Linked DNA regions of Homo sapiens: region 2 is linked to region 1. Evidence: promoter capture Hi-C in 16 types of primary human blood cells and fetal thymus (Javierre and others, 2016). All regions are on one chromosome and are shown on one strand. The core of a region is centred on a gene start or on the middle of the fragment in contact, and the rest is flanking DNA. Distances in the headings are between cores, read along the strand shown. Region 1 holds the start of FAIM (Fas apoptotic inhibitory molecule). Region 2 overlaps DNAJC13 (DnaJ heat shock protein family (Hsp40) member C13).

Region 1 (3,291 bases), core at 592-3,091:
GATTCTGTCTGAAAAATAAAAAAATGAAACTTGGGAGCAAGAAATTAATCCACTGTTGTTTTTAAACTCTTATGCATGTACTTAATTTTCAAGATTCTATGACCAAACTGGAAAATGATAAATACAAAAAACCCTCTATTTTTGCAAATATTTTATTAAAATGTAAATTTAAAAAGATGAAAAACCATATTCCACTTACTTTCACTGATGGAGATGATACCAAGCACTTGAAACTTTTTACATGTCTTTAAAGAAAGCTTTTTGCGTATCTCATACGTACCCATCAATCTTTTAAAATCCCTTCCCTAGCAACCCAACACCTAAGTTTCAGAGCATGACTTAAACACCAACACGTTGCCACTGTTCATCTAATCCACCTGAATTTTGCCTTAACTTAGGTTTATTCTTACTGGGGACTGAAATGGTTCGTTCAAGATAAACCGAAGTCAGTTTAAAAATTACTAGATGATAGTAGTTACTAAGATGCTCATGGTTCCCTTTTCAGCAAAGGCCCCCAGGTAGGGCCAGCCAATAATGCAAGTCACACTCAAGTGTTGACATCTTCATCTCCGGGCCGGCCCCTTATGAAGTGAGGGGGGTCTCCAGTAAAATCACTCAGGAAGCTCCTCGAGCCAAGTATTCCCAAATGCTACTTACTGGAGGTACAAAAAGGAGAATAACTTTTCTGAGGGCCATTTCACAATCTATACCAGAAGCCTTGTGGTATAGACCGTGGATTCTATCTTGTTTTAGAACGAATCTTGTGCGATTCTTTCTACAGAAATGATCACGCTCAAAAACCCAGATACAACGATGCTCAATGAATTACTTTTTGCAATAACTAAAAACTGAAAACCACTTGTACGCTCACCATCAGGGAGAAACTACATTTAGTAAATCACAGTCCAAAGCCATGCCAAGAGTCAGGGATGGATGAGGTAGTCAACCTGACACACAGGAATGTACAGTCGAGAGAGAGAGAGAGAGAGAGAGAGAGTCGAGAGAGAGAGAGAGAGAGTCGAGAGAGAGAGAGTCGAGAGAGAGAGAGAGAGAGAGAGAGAGAGAGAGAGAGAGAGAGTTTCAGCACTTTATGATGCAGGTTCTGCAAAAACAAGCCCCGCTCATGTTACAAGGAAAAACCATCTGGAAGAATATACACCCTCATGTTAACGCAGCTTGTCTCTGGGGAGCAGCGGCACGGCTGCTTTGCTTGCTTCCTTGCTTTCTGTTCCACGTTTTCGACAGTGAGAAGTATTATCTTTAGAGGTCGCGAACAGGCCGGAGGAGGGTGCGGCAGGTCGCGGGGCAGGGCCTCGCTAGGCAGGGACGCCCCCGCACCGCCCCGGGCTGGCCCCGCGCCCCGCGCCCCGCCGCACCTCCACCTTTGCCGGCGGTGAGCGGGAGCCGCGTCCCGCCCCGAGGTCTGGGATCACCGGCGGGCCGGCTGGAAGCGTCCGGAACTCACCCAGCGTCTCACCCGCGCGGGTCTCACCGACCGCGCAAACACCGCCCGCCGCCGCCGCCCAGAGATGGCCGCCGCCGGCGCAGCAGGGCCGAGAGCGTGGGGACGCCGGGGGGCTGAGTGCAGGGGTTTCCAGGGTGCGGAGCGGGCGGGCCCGAGGCGTCCGGGCGGGCGCAGGCGCGACACCGACCCCACCCGGTCTGCTGCCTCACCTGTGCTCTGTGGGCCGCGGGAGGCTCTGGGGTAGGTTTCACCAAACAACCGGTTGGTTCCGACTCGGCTGCGTAGGCCGCGTGGCCTTGCTCCCCTGGCCGAGAAACAGGCGCAGCCGGCGCGGAGGTTGAAAGCTCTGCAGGCGCGAGTACCAAACGCGCCGACTGTTTGTCGCGCCTCTCAGGTCCCCTGGGGCGACCAGCGCAGGAGGCCACCCCTCCCGCCGCCACGGACCCAACCCTGGTCCTCTGCCTTAGCCGAAGGCCGCACCCTCCGCGCATAGGCCTTCCTCAGCCCCAACCCAGGACATCACCATGTCCCGCAGTGCGTCCAGTCTTCCTGCCAGCAAGTGTGGGTAGGAGCCGGCCGCTGGCCCCGCTCTGGGCTAGACGGTGGGGACATACTGGCGGGCAAAAACAGCCCTGTGCCTGCTCTGCAGCTATGGGGAAGGAATATCTGTTCATGGCAGCAATAGCATTCGCTCCTTAAAACCTCTTTATGAGTCTCATTCCTTTTTTAAAGACCCAAACTACTTAAGGTGGGCATGAAGCCCCCATGTGTGATCTAGCCTCTGCCTGCTTGGCTTCATTTAGGTCCTTAAAGGATGCAGGTTTCTTCTCGCCCAGGGCCTCTGCAAATGCTCTTCTCTCTGCCTGGACACTCCTCACCTCTTCCCTATTGTGAGAGTTCTTCATATATCATTTCTTAGATTACACTATCCTGGCCCATAAGACTTGCAGCATTGCTGGGTGTGGTGGCTCATACCTGTAATCACGGCATTTTGGGAGGCAGAGTGGCGGATCTCTTGAGTCCAGGAGTTCAAGACCAGCCTGGGCAACATGGTAAAAAAAAAAAAAAAGAGAGAGAGAGAATGAGAAAGAAGAAAAGAAAATAATTAGCGGCTCAGGCCTGTAATCCTAGCTACTTGGGACGCTGAGGTGGGAGAATTGCTTGGGCCCTGAAGGGAGGTAGAGGCTGCAGAGAGCTGTGATTGCACCACTACACTCCAGCCTGGGCAACAGAGCGAGACCCTGTTTCATTAAAAAAAACACACACAAAAAGAAACAGCCGGGCTCAGTGGCTCACGCCTGTAATCCCAGCACTTTGGGATGCTGAGGCAGGCATGGCAAAACCCCGTCACTACTGAAAATATAAAACTTAGAGGGGCGTGGTGGTGCATGCCTGTAGTCCCAACTACTTGGGAGGCTGAGGCAGGAGAATCGCTTCAACCTGGGAGGTGGAGGTTGGAGTGAGCTGAGATTGAGCCACTGCACTCCAGCCTGGGCGAAGAGCAAGACTCTGTCTCAAAAAAAAAAAAAAAAAAAAACAGCCGGGCACAGTGGCTTACACCTGTAATCCCAGCACTCTGGGAGGCCAGGTGCGGATTGCCTGAGGTCAGAAGTTTGAGACCAGCCTGGCCAACGTGGTGAAACCCTAGCTCTACTAAAAATACAAAAATTAGCCGGGCGTGGTGGCATGCGTCTGTAATCCCAGCTACTCAGGAGGCTGAGGCAGGAGAATCACTTGACCTTGGGAGGTGGCAGTTGCAGCGAACTGAGATCGCCTCACTGTACTGCAGCCTGAGCCACAGAGTGATACTTCGTCTCAAAAACAAA
Region 2 (3,291 bases), core at 473-2,972, 6.2 Mb after region 1:
TTTACATATTGAAATGCATATAGTCAATTCTGCTATAATGCTTTCTTGATCATGTGAATTTTAACAGGATTGGTGTATTACTGAACAATTTGAGCATAATGAAAATGTCACATTTGCTTATAGTGATTCTGTCCCAACACTAAGTGAACGCAGAAAATTGTACCCAACTGAGTCATGCAGGAATTCACAAAATACACACACACACTTCAGGTGGTCAATGAACCACATACATTCACATATATGTTACTAATTTTCCACTCCATCTTATAACTTTTTTTCCTTCTACTACTTCACAGTAATTCAGAAACTATAACTCCATCCAATGCTCACTGCATTGTTTGCTCAAACTTTTTCAAGGCAAAATGTCATTATTATAGTATTTAACATGTACAAAACAGTTCTTTTTAAGCTCCTATCTTTTTAAAAAATGTATAATGATGACTGCTCTTTCTCTTGGGAGTTTTTTTCATGGGCCTCATAATTTTTGGTTAAAAGCTGGACATGTTGTGTAGGAGTAGAGATTGAGGTAATTTTTATGACTGGAAATGAGCACGCCTGTTCTTTGTGAGGCCTTTGGTGAAGGGTTTGTGTTAATCTGGTTAGGAGTTGGACTTAGTTTATGATTTGTTTTTGCCATAGTTATCCTCAGTGTATTACAGCCTTCATGAATCTGCAGAACAGTTTGTCTCTCTGGTGGGCGATGGTTTACTAGAGCAATGCCTGTTTGATTCTTTGTGTTGTGCCTCTTTGCATAATCTTGTTCCTTTCCTAGTAGTATTTTGTGGGTTACTTGTTACTGAAAGCTTCTTAGCTTGGTGGCAGGGGGTTGGGGGTGGGGGATACAGTCTGATGTTCTGATTAAGTCTAAGTCAAACACTGTGTTCCTGAATCTCAGGAGGGCAGCACTCTCGGTTCTGTTGACCACTCCCGACTGCAGTTTTGGGCTCAGGGCCCCTCCTCCAGGCATAAGATTCTCTCCCACTTCTCATCTACCCCCTGAATGTTCACCAATGGGGCCAACAGAGATACCCTTCTCCCCAGAGATTAAAGCTTTTTTCCATAGAAGAGGCAGAGGGGAAGAATCACAGCAGTTTCTTGACCCTCTTAAAAGTTCTGTTGCTGTTCCTCTCCCTCTCAATCTGCACAGCAGACTCACCCAGGGTTCTTTCCAGTCTTTTCTAGTAGACCCAGGGAGGTTTGTGGATAAGAGTTTGCAAGATTGTGCATTCAGCTTTCATCATGCTTTTTGTCCAGTTGTGTCTGAAGACGGTAAACAGAAATTGACATCTACTCTCTGTAAGCACTGTCTCTCAAATTTTCAGCCAGTGGTTTTGCTCTGTGGACTCAGCTCTTTAATAGATTTCAAAAAAGTCATGAATTTGTAGTGTAGGTCTTTTTTTGTTGCAGAAGTGAGAGCAAAGCTTCTTTTTTTGTCTCAGGGCCAAAGCCAGAGGTAGTTACATTATTTATAAACTAAAGATAGCAAAGAAGGTGTTACTAATTATTTTTTATAAAAAGGGAGCCTTTATTGGGTCTAATAAAGTTGAGAAACACTGACTCAAGGAACTCTTTCAAAATATTAATAACTCCCCTTTAACTACTGCCATGTTTTACAGTGAACATTTAGGCCAAAACCTATTTGTAGCAACCAAATTTGTGCTGCAGTTTATCTGCACAGCCTTGTTTCAATTACTAATTTAAAGTACCTCAATCAGAAGCAGGGGAAAGGTATGTGTAGCAGAAACCTCATATTCACCTGTGTAAACAGAACTGGTTGAGGAATGAAGCCAAATTAGTTAAAACACATCTTTTCAATTTCAACCCTAATTTGGGACCTATTGAGAACCGGACTCCACTATCAACCTTTTAACAAATTTAATAAAGCCAGTATTGTTACAGTCCACCTGGGCAAGGCAACCATCTTCTATTTATTTGTGGATAAAGTTAAATTATTCCAAACAATTCATTCACTTATTAATATTTTATTTTTTAGCTTAAGTATTTTGTTTACAACTAAGCTTGTTAACAATATATAACATTAATATATTTTAGACTATTTATTACTACCACTTTAGAAAAAGAGGAATATTCATTGCCTCTCAGTGGAATACAAATGCTGATATTTTCCATGAACTGAACTCTAGCCTTAAGGTTCTTTACATTCTTATTTCTTAATAATCCTCTGACTCCTCTTTTCCTCCCTTAATATGTTCTACTTCCTGTTTTCAAACAAGGAGTATAATGTAATAATTTCTACACAAGGACGTGTGTTGCCTGAATGCATTGTGATACTAACAGCACAAGCCAAGTCTGAGATATAGTAGCTTAAAAAGCGTTTCACATTACACAAAATGTGAACAAGGTTTTACGTTATATGATAGATAAGCCAATAAAGTACTTTCCAAAAATCAAAGAACTGTGTTCTGGATACCGAATTTCTGACAAGTGGTTTCTATAAATTTATTTTTTTAAGGCAAATTCTGTTTCATACTCCCATAAACTCAAAGTACTGGTAATATATTATAAAACCTTATCACTGTAATTTTCCCTGCAGGCAGTAGTTTCAAACCTAGAAACCTATCAAGTCCATAAACTGAGAAAGAAAATATAGTAAGAAAGAATTACTGGGGGCAGGTTCTGAACTTCTACTTTTTTCCCCAAGACACTGTATTACAAAAGGCTCAACATAACTGTACACTATAAAGCCCTTCATAGAGGACGCAACAGCATCAGGTACAGAACCTCCTTTTTGAGGGAAATCAGAATAACGTAAAAGGGAAAAGCAGAGGGAAAATGAGAAATAATTACTTTGGGAGACCACCGCCACATTAGGGTGAAATCTTTACTTTTTTCCCCCCTCTAAGCAACGGACACAGGAAACAATCTTAAGACAAACGTGGTTAACGGAACACGCTACAAAAGGAGAAAATTTAAGGGAAGGCACTCTTAAACATAGTTAAGTATCAAGTGATTAACAGCCACTTCACTGAGCGTCTAAGTCCTACTTTACCCACTCCAAAGGCCACATTCAAAGATAAAATCACAGCAGCGGAGGAAAGGCCACGTGAATAAGCTGCCTTGCAGGAAGGAAAAGCCTTAGGGGAGAAAATGATTTTAGAAAAAGTACTGGAGAACAGACGACGCGGATGCTCATTTCCTAACAAAACGAAACAAAGCAAAGAAAGTCAGTCTGCAGGACTTGTTCGGAAGGAGGGTCGCTGACCCAAGGAAACAAGAGTTGCCGGCATCCAGCAGGAAGGGTGCTCAGACTAGGAGACTGGAAGGGAATCC

Evidence for each region. Contacts are between HindIII fragments. The CHiCAGO score rates a contact against its expected background, and 5 or more counts as called.
Region 2: a contact is called between a fragment that was not itself captured here and the fragment with the promoter of FAIM in region 1, in 1 of 17 cell types (naive CD8 T cells). The highest score is 5.7, in naive CD8 T cells.

Annotation. Positions count from the first base shown.
Region 1 is chr3:138,607,321-138,610,611 of GRCh38, reverse strand. FAIM (Fas apoptotic inhibitory molecule) reads right to left here and starts at 1,841. Exons shown (of 6, transcript NM_001033031.2): 1 at 1,675-1,841. RefSeq lists an enhancer at 1,104-1,193 and a silencer at 1,294-1,753. The HindIII fragment of the contact is 4,797 bases long and covers 260-3,291 here.
Region 2 is chr3:132,418,093-132,421,383 of GRCh38, reverse strand. All of the region lies in intron 1 of DNAJC13 (DnaJ heat shock protein family (Hsp40) member C13), which reads right to left. Among named protein-coding and RNA genes, the nearest start is that of DNAJC13, 2.2 kb to the right of the region's middle. RefSeq lists an enhancer at 3,018-3,291. The HindIII fragment of the contact is 597 bases long and covers 1,424-2,020 here.